2 separate regions of the Homo sapiens genome follow, and region 1 is linked to region 2. The links are contacts of gene promoters, found by promoter capture Hi-C in blood cells and fetal thymus (Javierre and others, 2016). All regions are on one chromosome and are shown on one strand. Each heading gives the region's core, a stretch centred on a gene start or on the middle of the fragment in contact. The rest is flanking DNA. Distances are from core to core; before and after follow the strand shown. Region 1 overlaps ENOPH1 (enolase-phosphatase 1). Region 2 holds the start of COPS4 (COP9 signalosome subunit 4).

The links. Contacts are between HindIII fragments. The CHiCAGO score rates a contact against its expected background, and 5 or more counts as called.
Region 1: a contact is called between a fragment that was not itself captured here and the fragment with the promoter of COPS4 in region 2, in 1 of 17 cell types (fetal thymus). The highest score is 5.1, in fetal thymus.

What each region holds. Positions count from the first base shown.
Region 1 is chr4:82,437,110-82,443,097 of GRCh38, reverse strand. The region is part of intron 1 of ENOPH1 (enolase-phosphatase 1); the gene reads right to left. Among named protein-coding and RNA genes, the nearest start is that of ENOPH1, 9.5 kb to the right of the region's middle. The HindIII fragment of the contact is 1,442 bases long and covers 2,239-3,680 here.
Region 2 is chr4:83,031,748-83,037,916 of GRCh38, reverse strand. COPS4 (COP9 signalosome subunit 4) reads right to left here and starts at 2,734. Exons shown (of 10, transcript NM_016129.3): 1 at 2,619-2,734. The coding sequence starts at 2,692. RefSeq lists enhancers at 2,245-2,304, 1,846-2,351, 2,365-2,424, 2,465-2,514, 2,615-2,964 and 2 more. The HindIII fragment of the contact is 6,632 bases long and covers 1-6,169 here.

The DNA of each region.
Region 1 (5,988 bases), core at 1,710-4,209, 600 kb after region 2:
CGCGGTGGCTCCGCCTGTAGTCCCAGCACTGTGGGAGGCCAAGGCCAGTGATCACTTGAGGTCACGAGTTTGAGATCAGCCTGGCCAACATGGTGAAACCCCCTCTCTACTAAAAACAAAAACTTAGCCAGGTGTGGTGGCTCGCGCCTGTAATCCCAGACATGAGAATTGCTTGAACCCAGGAGGAAAAGGTCACGGTAAGCCAAGATCACGCCACTGCACGCCAGCCTGGGCGATAGAGCAGGACTCTGTCTCAACAACAACAAACAAAATTAACTGGCTTGATGGTTCCTAAATATAAATCACATCATACAAATAATTAATAAAACAGGTTACAAACAGTATGTACAGCATAATCCTATCGGGGGGATATTTAACACACTGAACAAAATATGAGAGAACATGAACTTAAATGTTTACAAAGGTTCTCTCTGGGTTATGACATTAAAAGAAACTTTTTTGCATATCTCTTTTCTGCAATAAAAATGTATAACCTTAATAGTGCTAAAAGTTAGCAAAACTAAGTGTTAAAAAAAAAATCATAGATTGCCGACAGTGTTTTTTTTGTTTGTTTTTTTGAGACAGAGTCTCGCTCTGTCACCCAGGGTGGAATACAATGGTGCGATCTCAGCTCACTGCAACCTCCACCTCCTGAGTTCAAGCAATTTTCCTGCCTCGGCCTCCTGAGTAGCTGGGATTACAGGTGTGTGCCACCACGCCCAACTGATTTTTGCATTTTTAGTAGAGATGGGGTTTCACCATGTTGGCCAGGCTGGTCTCGAACTCCTGACCTCTGATGATCCCCCGCATCTTGGCCTCCCAAAGTGCTGGGATTACAGGAGCCACCACCAAGCTGGCCTGCTGACAGTGTTTTAAATAAAATCACCCCCTACAAAGACAAATAATTAAAGGCTGTATCCAGTGAATAAACTTAGGGGAAATTACATGCAATGGACAAGAAGAGCTAGTTATCTGAGGCAGAATGACTGAAGAATTTAGCAAAATCCAAATTCCAATCAGAATGACTACACTGTGACTTCAAGAGAATAGAGCTTTATCGGCACAGGTAGTGAATCAGCTATACTATGATCAGTCTGAAGAAAGACCACATTTGTGCTGAGCCACTTTTCTTCCCTGGCTCAAAGTCACTTACTTTGATGATCTTGTCACCTAGCATCTTTCTCTGTTAAAGTTAGCCTTCCCATGTAGTTTTCCCACAGATGTTTACTGCCAGATGTCTGTGATAATAGTATTAGGAAAATGTAATACATTAGGCTTTTTTGGTTTTTTAAATTTATTTTTGTTGTTGTTGTTGTTGTTTTTGTAGAGACAGTCTCACTATGTTGCCCAGGCGGGTCGTGAACTCCTGGGCTTAAGTGATCCTCCCATCTCAACCTCTCAAAGTGCTGGGAGTAAATAACTGTCACAAGATCTGATGGTTTTTACTTTATTTTATTTTATTTTGAGATGCAGTCTCGCTCTGTCGCCCAGGCTGGAGTGCAGTGGCGCCATCTCAGCTCACTGCAAGCTCTGCCTCCCGGGTTCACGTCATTCTCCTGCCTCAGCCTCCAGAGTAGCTGGGACTACAGGCACCCGCCACCACGCCTGCCACCACACCCGGCCAATTTTTTGTATTTTTAGCAGAAACGGGGTTTCACCGTGTTAAACAGGATGGTCTCGATCTCCTGACCTCGTGATCTGCCCACCTTGGCCTCCCAAACAGCTGGGATTACAGGCATGAGCCACCACACCTGACAACCTGATGGTTTTATAAAGGGGAGCTCCCTTGAACATGCCCTCTTGCCTGCCACCATATAAAATATCCCTTTGCTCTTCCTTCTTCTTCCACCATGATTGTGAGGCCTCCCCAGCCATGTGGAACTGTAAGTCCATTATACCTCTTTCCTTTATCAACTACTCAGTCTCAGGTATGTCTTTATTAGCAGCATGAGAACAGACTAATACACCAAGCTTTGTTTAAATACTTCTAACAACGAGAATTGCTACTTTTTGGAGTGGTCCATGCCATCTGCCAGATAGTTTCAGCAGTTGTGGTATTAGAATTGCTCTTCAAAAAGGCTTCCTGAAGACCACAGTAGGAGCTATCAAGAAGTTTCTGTGTTCTGGCTGCCACATGGGGCCACATGGTCTCAGGAATTAAAATCCTACTGTCCTCGTCTTCATGGGAGTAAACAGGGCTGGACCCATACAAGGGGTGTAGGTTGAAAACTGAAAGCTTAGGAATGAACATCAGATTTCACATGTGCATTCAAAATGAATTAATCAATGTGGTGCTGATAAGACAAAAGATAGCCCCATTAAGGAGATTAAATTATAATTAACAAAAGATACACTGTTATCTAATTAAGTGCAATGAATCACACTGAACAAGGGATTGTTATCAGTACAAGAGGGCTAGTAATTGGAGTAAGGTTTTAAGAAGCAGCACAAAAGAAACAGAGTATCTCCAATGAGTTCCAGAAAGGGAACTTGACTGGCCCAGAGTCCTAGTCCTTAACAGTGGAGGGGAAAGGAAGGCATTCACATTCATCTCCTTGAATCTGCCTAACATCCCTGCAAAGTAAGCCTTCTTTCATAGAGGAAGACACTGAGGTTCAAAGAGGTTTCGCTGCTGGTGCAGAGTAAAGCCAGGACTCAAACCCAGGCCTATCAAATCCCAACACCTGAAGCCATCCAGCTCTCACGGGTGAATGACTTCAAGGAGCACTACTCACCAGGATCATCTAACTCCCTGGATCTTGACAGCATATTCTCTATGGAAATTTCTAATATAGCTTTGATTCCCCAAAGAGGTTTCATACAAAGAAAATGAGAGATTATGGTTCACCCAGTAGTTCTGTAACATTTCCTATAAAGTATCAGCAATAATAATTCAAGTAGTTATAGTAATGGGAGTAACTGCCAACATTTACTGAGCACTTACTATGACAAACACTTCTCTTTTCTATCTATAATCACTCCTTTGTGATCTTACCTAATTCCATGACTTTAAATACCATTTATACTAATGATCCCCAAATCCTTACCTTTAGCTTGGACCTTTTCCAAATGCCTACCCAATATCCCCACTTGCATGTCTATTCAGTATCTCAAACTAAACACATCTGAAACCAAACTCTTGATTCCATCCCTTAATCCTCCTCCTCCCCCTACATCTCCACATCACAGTAAATGACAGAACCATCCTTCCAGATGCTCAGGCCAAAAACCTTAGAGTCATCTTTGACTCCTCTTTCTCTCAAACTCCACATCCAACCAATCCATCAGCAAATCCCATCAGCTCTACCTTCAAAATATATTCAGATCCAATCACTTCTCACCACTGCCACCACCAAGCACTCAAAATTTACTCAACTTACTGATAATGTCATTTTAATCTTCATAATAACCCTGTGAAATTGGTGCTACTACTTCCTCCATTTTTCAGAGGCACATAAAGGTTAAGTACAAATTAACAAACTGAGATTATAGTTTACCAATCAGGTCTTTCTTTTTGAGTTTATAGAGTCAGATGCCTGGAATCTCCCCAGTATCAGATCGGGGGTAAAGATCCCACTCTTTACCCCCATCAAAGGGATCTAATTACCTTCCTGAACTTACAACGACTTGGACCCATACAAGACCAGTCCAGAGAGAGCTGGAGTAAGTATACACAAGCTTAACTGTCAAACACTGGTCTGATTGTGAGCTCCAAAGTCCCACCAAGGTCTCAATGCTGAAATTACCATTAGTTTCCAAACCGCATGCCTTAGTTTCTCTTTACTCAGTAAAGGGGTACCAGGTCCACACTTTTTAGACTTAAGAAAAGGAACTTGTTAGAAGGTCACATCATGAATCACTGGAAAGAAAATCAAGCTAAGAAATGAACCCCTCATGCACATACCTAGAAGGCAAACAACCCCTTTCTGTCCTAAAGACATTCTGTCTTTGAAAAGAAACCCATTTTCCTGAAATGGTATCACCTGGGAAAGGTCCAGAGAGGATCCAGGAGGGCCTCTGAGGATAAAGCTACCAACTTTCCACACGACTCTTTAGTGAGCTGATGGGAAAATGGGTGCAATAGGATTAGGGCAGGTTGGTTTCCACTCCTCTTCTGACCTGCACCTCCAACAAAACCAGTTTTGAAAATCAAATGAGTTGATAAATGTGAAATTCAAAGTTTCATATAAAAATAACCTTTTATTGTAAAAAAGAATACTTTGTTTTCTTTAGTGGAGTGGTAACACAGGGTAAGCTGCAAGGATAGAAAATTTTAAGACCCATCAGACAAAGAAGAAGTAAGCACTTTTCAGGGCTAAACACAGGGTATCATTTTAAAAGTCTGTATGAGCAAGATAAAATCCAGCCTATGTATTTAAAATATAGGGGTTATAGCTTAAAATCAGTGCCCCTTTTAAAAATTGTTATTTTTTCGATCACGCCACTGCATTCCAGCTCTGTCACCCAGGCTGCATGCAGTGCAGTGGCACAATCACACCTCACCACAGTCTCTACCTCCTGGGCTCAAGTGATCCTCCCACCTCAGCCTCCTGAGTAGCTGGGATTACAGGTGCACATCACCATGTCCAGCCAATTTTTTATTTTTTGTAGAGATGGGGTCTCCCTATGTTGCCCAGGCTGGTCTTGAACTCCTGGACTCAAGTAATCTCCTTGCCATGGCCTTCCAAAGTGCTGGGATTACAGGTGTGAGCCACCATGCCCAACCCCTTTTACTCAATAAGTCTGACTACATATCTTTCAAAGATCTGTATGACTTTACTGTGTACCTAGGGAAAAAAACAGAAGGAATATTCACCAAACTCTTAATGGTCACCTCTGGATGGCAGGAGCATATCAGGGCTTTCACTCTCTATATCATACTCTTCTTTGTCTGCAATTTTATAATCAGGGCGAACTAATTTTCTAGGAAGAATATTTGGGGGGGTAGAAAAACCTTTCCTCTAGTCTTACATTAACAGATGCAAGTTTCTATAAATAACATATTTCACTTTTTATCTTAATTTTGTTAATAAAATTTTCTCTTTTATGACATTTAATTTCCATTATCAGCTGGTTTCATCCTCTATAACTTGTAGGTTTTGGAAATGTTGAGTCAATGAATTCTAATGCCACTCTAGAAACACTTTCAGTTAAATTGTTCAAATATAATAGAGTACCACCTTGAGGAAATCTGAAATAGCAAGGATTGCAGAGTATGGAAGAAACTGAATCCCAGTCCCTCCCACACCCATTCCGGAATGCATATCACCATCACCCAGCATGTTACAGCATGCCTGATGTGTAAGCACTGTGTGAGGCTCTGGTCTCTGCCCTTGAGGAGCCTTCCACACAGCTTGAAAAAGAGGACACACATCCAACATCACAAGTCAGCTATTGGCTCCAGTAGCAAATACTACACATGGTACTGACAATGAGTTCAGAGGACGAAGAGAAAGGACTTTGAAATTCCTGCTTAAATAGGTCCTTTACAAGAAGAGGTAGCTCTTACTTCCATATTCCCACAGCTTAGCACAATAAGTAATTTTTTTTTAAGTTAATGAGTGCATGGGACCCACACTTGGAGACGAAAAGGTATGACATTCCAAGCTGGAAGAATGGTGGCAGCAAGAAAGGGCATGATTGGAATGTGCATGTTCAGCTATGTAAAGTGTAAAGAGAGGGATAGAAAGTTGGAAAACCCAATTTGTTGAACTCTCATCTCACAGCCAGTGAGAGACTACAGAGGACTTTGATTATGCAAAGGCGACCTATTTATGTAACTGTCTTCCTTTCTAGGTTCCCTGAGGAACCTGAGGGTGACAGCTGGGTCTTAAGGACTCTGGATCCCTACCATATCCTGGAACATGACAGGTATTCAATTAAATGTGAGGGAAAGGAAAGAAGGATTGATTAGGCTGGAAAGATTATGCTAATGCCACAATACTGAAGGTTCTAGAAAAATAAGGAACCAGAAATCAAAGTGAGAGG
Region 2 (6,169 bases), core at 1,485-3,984:
CTGGTAGGTTTAAAATGAGCTTTTTAGAGTAGATGAACCTGGATTCAAATACAAGCACTGCCCCTTTCTAGCTATTCATTAATTCAACCACGTTTATTGAACAACTACTGTTACAGATATCCCAATTGCTAGGAACACACAGTATTGATGTTTTAGAAACAATGTATTCCATTATTCTTTAATATGGAATCCTTTGTTACTCAGCTCCTAAAAAAAACACCCAAAAACCTTCATTAAAAGTACATACAAGAAAAAATACATTAAAAAAAAACACACTGATATATTTCAAGGGTATTTCTCTTAAAGCATATAGCTGGTAGAACTGATGTTGTTGTAAGGATAAATATCCTGCTACATTCTTGCCCACATAGGAAATGCAGGCAAGGCCAAGACTTTTCTCAGAAAGCAGCTCTGAAGGAGTTATGGCTAAGACTGCACTGGCTATCAGTTATCAAGCACATTATTTCATTTAATCTTCACAATAACACCATGTGGTAGACTGCTACAGTAACGGCTTCCAATGAATCGTGTCTCCCTCTGTCCAGGCTCCTTTGCAATGTAACTTTGCCACTAAAGAGGTAGTAGTAAGCTCCATTTCCCCTCCCCTTGAATCTGGGCTGGTCTTCTGATTTACTTTGACCAGTACTAGAGAACTGACGTGAGACTTCCTAGGCTATCCTTAAGAGGTCTTGCGACTTCCCCTCTCATAGGCACCTAAGAAAGCCCAAGCTAAACTACTGAATGAGAGACTGTGCAGAGAGAGAGAGAGATCCAGGCAAGAGCAAGATATGCATGTGAGTCCCGCCCCAGGTGTGTTGCCAGCTGACTATATCTGCATGAGTGAGCCCAGACAAGACCAGCAAAGCAGTCCAGTCAACCCATAGAATCCTGAGAAATCATAGTTGTTTTACACTGGTTAAGTTTTTGGTTTGTTACAAAGCAACAGATAACTGAAGCACGCTTTAAGTACTATTGTTTATCTCCAATTCAGACCTGAAGAAGTAAATACTTAAGTTTCAGAATTCTGCAAATACTTGCAAAGCTCTATTTCTTTTGATAACTAATGCACTTATTCTTCTTTAACAAAATAAAAAGTAAAGGAAGCATGGGGAAAAATATAAGCTGATTTTACTTTCATCCATATAAAAATTACAAGCAGAAAGGATTGAGCCATGAAGACATATTTAACTTATTTCCAACCCATACAATAAGTGAATATATATTTACTGACAGCTTAATAGTAACAACAACAATCTTACCGCACTTTCTATATGTCAGGTACTGTTCTACGTGATATAAGTGTGGTAAGTATATATGCACACACATACTCATCTTGTCCTCAGATAATGTCAGACAAGAATAAGTCCTATTATTATCTTCATTTTCCTGAGTGGGAAAATGCAGCACAAAGTAGTTAAGCCCAAAATATACGGCTGAATTTCCCACTGATAAAAGTAGATTACGTTTGCCACCAGAGAAAAGGCAGCCTAGCCTACTTAAAACAGTCAGAATTTCAATGACCAGGTTAGAACAGGTGTATCCCATTAATATACATCAAAGTGATTTCAGCTGTCAGGATGTAAACATTAAGATCAACTTGAGAGGCATACTTTATTTACTTATTTATTTACGGAGACGGGTGGCGGCGGGGGGGGGGGTCTCACTATGTTGCCCAGGCTGGTCTAGAACTCCTGCCCTCAAGTGATCCTCCCTCTCAGATCTCTCAGGCCTCAAGTGATCTCAGCCTCTCAAAGTGCTGGGATTACAGGCGTGAGCCACTGCACCCGGCCTAGAGAGGCATACTTTAAACAGAAAGCATGTTCATTACAAAAGAGAAATGCTGTGACATCTACAAAGAGAAAATGAACAATATACGTCTACCTACCTATGCTTAATACTGTTGACAACTGCTTGCAGAACAGGCACGTCACACATTTTAACTTGGAGTGAACCTAAGCATTCTATATAAATTTCGACAAAATTCAGATTCCTGCAAACATCACTACTGTAGACATCCTGACCCACGATATGAGCACATTCCGCCTATGTGCCATCAGAGTTGGTGGCAGAGAAAATACCCGAAACACAAGGACCCACAGAAGACAGTCTGAATGGTCTGGACGACATGACAGCGGCCATACCGCCTCAACCTCAGCCAGCCCCAAGAAGCCATCTCCCCGAAAAACGCAGCATCAAGGCCCCAGAATATACATTTCTCTGAATCAAAAAAAAAGAGGAGGAAGGTCCAAAGAGAGGCCAGATTCGGTGTGAGGCCGGCCAGCGATGGGAAGAGGTACCAGGGAAGGCTACTAAGGCCAGGGTAGCAGTCGTCTCTCAGACCGCTGTTCCAAAATCCTAAGGGACCAGAAAGATTCTATCAAGAACTGAACAAGCTGACAATCATTTCAAGTCTATAGCCTCGAAGGCCCCTGCACAAGGTCCCCTCCAGCTTTCTGCTTCTCCCAACATTTGCCTCCCCAGCCGACCTCAGGCCCGCCCCCTTGGACGTCAGGCCGGCTCCTAGCTTCACGCCCAAGAGCCGTGGCCAACCTAAGGAGATTAAGGCTGTGGCTTTCTTTCCCCACCTCTGTACTCCCGCGTTCCTGGGAAATACTCACTTGCCAGCCAGATCTTTATGAGAGCCGCTCGAATTCATGAGCTGGGCCAAATCCTGTCGCACGGCTGCCGCCATCTTTCTCCCAGCTCAGCGGTGGATGCGGGGGCCTCTGGCAGCCAAAAAGAAAACGAGTGTGGTCCTCCAGAGTGCAGCCAGAGGGAACCTGAGATGCTACAGAGTAGCGTCTGTGTGGGCCAGAGCGTCGGGTGTGGGAGCCTGGGCTAGCTCCGCCCCCAGGGTTGAGTGATGCGGAGCTCCACTCCTCAGGTCTGAGGCCTGCCCAGGTCTCTCCTACAGGCTCTGGCTCTCACGCTTGGACTTTGGATTGGCTGATGAACTCCAGTAGTGAGTCTCTGGTGTAACTCCAATGAGTAGCCGGTACATAAAACGACTGCGTTTTCGCAAAGTTCCGTTTCTCACGTCTGTGGTTTACCGTCCTTCGATCTTTCAGGCAGCGCTTAAACTGCCTGTGGTAAAGAATGAGTTTTGTTTCCGATTCACCACAGAAGATACTTTTTAGAAATACAATTAAAATGTCCCTATTCCTCCTCCCACTCCGTGCACTTTATAATGGTTGGTCAGACATTCCAGTTTGTCCAGTACAAAGCGATTTTCCCTCTGTCGTCCTGGAGTAATGATTAATATCCCCCCTTTCGGCCGGGCGCGGTGGCTCACGCCTGTAATCCCAGCACTTTGGGCAGCCGAGGCGGGCGGATCACGAGGTCAAGAGATCGAGGCCATCCTGGCTAACACGGTGAAACCCCGTTCTCTACTAAAAATACAAAAAAATTAGCCGGGCGTAGGTGGTGCACCCCTGTAGTCCCAGCAACTCGGGAGGCTGAGGCAGGAGAATGGCGTGAACCCGGGAGGCGGAGTTTGCAGTGAGCCGAGATCGCGCCACTGCACTCCAGCCTGGGAGACACAGCGAGACTCGGTCTCAAAAAATAATAATAATAATAATAACATCCTCCCTTTCATTCTAGAAACCGTTCCATTTCAATGGAAGATTATATGGTCGCCTGCGTTTGTATAACATTCAATACTCATGTATTCTTATAGAATTTCTGCAAATACAAGCAAATATTAATAAAATAAAATTTTACCTCTCACAAGCAACACCACATAATTGTTCTGCCTTGGTTTTTTTTTTTTGCACTTTTCCTGGTACTGTGGTTTGAAATAATTGTCTTCTCCAAAACTCATGTTGAGGGCTGGCGCCGTGGCTCACGTCTGTAATCCCAGCACTTTGGGAGGCCGAGGTGGACGGATCACCTGAGGTCGGGAGTTCGAGACCAGCCTGACCAACATGGAGAAACCCCGTCTCAACTAAAAATACAAAAATTAGCTGGGTGTGGTGGCACGTGCCTGTAATCTCAGCTACTCGGGAGGCTGAGGCACGAGAATCACTTGAAGCTGGAAGGCGAAGGTTACGGTGAGCCAAGATTGCACCACTGCACTCCAGCCTGGGCAACAAGAGGGAAATTCCGTCTCAAAAAAAAAAAAAAAAACAAACAACTCATGTTGAAACTTCATCTTTAATGTGGCAGTATTTAGAGGTGGGCCTTAAATAGGTGATTGGATCATGAGGGCAAAACCCTTGATCTATTCATGGATTAATGGGTTGTCATGGGAGAGAACATGTGGCTTTATTAGAAGAGGAAGAGACCTGAGCTAGCATGTTAGGAAGGTCACTCCCTTGCCATGTGATACCCTGTGCTGCTTCTGAACTCTAGCAAGTCCCCACCAGCAAGAAGGGTCTCATTAGATGTGGCCCCTTGACCTTAGACTTCTTGGCCTTCATAACTCTAAGATATAAATTCCTTTTCTTTATAAATTACCCAGTTTCAGGTATTCTGGTATAAGCAACAGAAAACAGACTAAGACAGCTGGACATCTTACCAGCTGTCCAGTCTTTCAAAATCACTCTTTTTGGAGCTAGAGGATATTACACAGTGAGAGTATGCCTTAGTTTATTTAATCCTTATAGGACATGTTATTTTTAATCAATGCGATGAATAACCTTTGCATACATTATATATGTACAGGTAGAACACATTACCAGAAATGAGGCAAAGGATAGACATACAATTTTGGTAGATATTGCCAAATTGCATTTTATAGGAATGGTATCATTTTGCCTTCCTACCAGAAATATATAGGGGTGCAGCTTCCTACAGCCTTGACTACAAAGGATGTCAAACTTTTGGATTTTTGCCATCTTGATGTGTGATAAATGGCATATTCCCTCTATTGGGAAAGAGAAAGAGAAGAATACCTGAAGAAGGAATCCCTTTTAAGAATGTGTATTAGTCTGTTCTCAGCCAGGCGTGGTGGCTCATGCCTGTAATACCACCACTTTAGGAGGCCAAGGCAGGTGGATCACCTGAGGTCAGGAGTTCGAGACCAGCCTGCTCAACATGGTGAAACTCTTTCTCTACTAAAAACACAAAAAATTAACCAGGCGTGGTGGCGGGTGCCTGTAGTCCCAGCTACTTAGGAGGCTGAGGCAGGAAAATCGATTGAACACAGGAGGCGGAGGCTGCAGTGAGCTGAGATCGTGCCACTGCACTCCAGCCTGGGTGGCAGAGTGAAATCTCAAAAATAAAATAAATAAAAAAAGAATGTATATTAGTCTGTTCTCACACTGCTATAAAGAACTACCTGAAACTGGGCAATTTGTAAAGAAAAGAGATTTAGGCCGGGCATGGTGGCTCACGCCTGTAATCCCAGCACTCTGGGAGGCCGAGGCGGGTGGATCACGAGGTCAGGAGATCGAGACCGTCCTGGCTAACACGATGAAACCCCGTCTCTACTAAAAATACAAAAAAATTAGCCAGGCGTGGTGGCGGGCGCCTGTAGTCCCAGCTACTCGGGAGGCTGAGGCAGGAGAATGGCGTGAACCCGGGAGGCGGAGCTTGCAGTGAGCCGACATCGTGCCACCGCACTCCAGCCTGGGCGACAGAGCGAGACTCCGTCTCAAAAAAAAAAAGAAAAGAGATTTAAATGACTCATAGTTCCACAGCCTTACAGGAGGCATGACTGGGGAAGCCTGAGAAAACTTACAATCATGGTGGAAGGGCAAAGGGGAAGAAAGTATGTCATCACATGAAGGCAGGAGAGAGAGAGAACACAAAGCGGGAGGTGCTACAGACTTTCAAACAACCACATCTCATGAGATCTCATTCACTATCACCAGAACACAAGAGGGAAATCTGCCGCCATGATCCAATCACCTCCTACCAGGTCCCTTCCCCAACACTGGGGATTACAATTCAACATGAGATTTGAGTTGGGGTACAGAGCCAAACCATATCAGAAAGTTAGGAGATTGCCCACATCAATTCGGATCATGTTCCATTGGCAAGAACTTAATCATATGACCACCAATGAGACTAGAAATTTAATTTCCAGTTGGGCAGCCTTGTGCCCAGAAATAGGAAAGAATGAGTTTAGAGGGACAATCAGCAGTCTCTACTACAATATGTCCCTCTGACCACCTGAATATCCACATGTCCTTTGATGGTAATTTTAGGTATCAACTTGATTGGATTA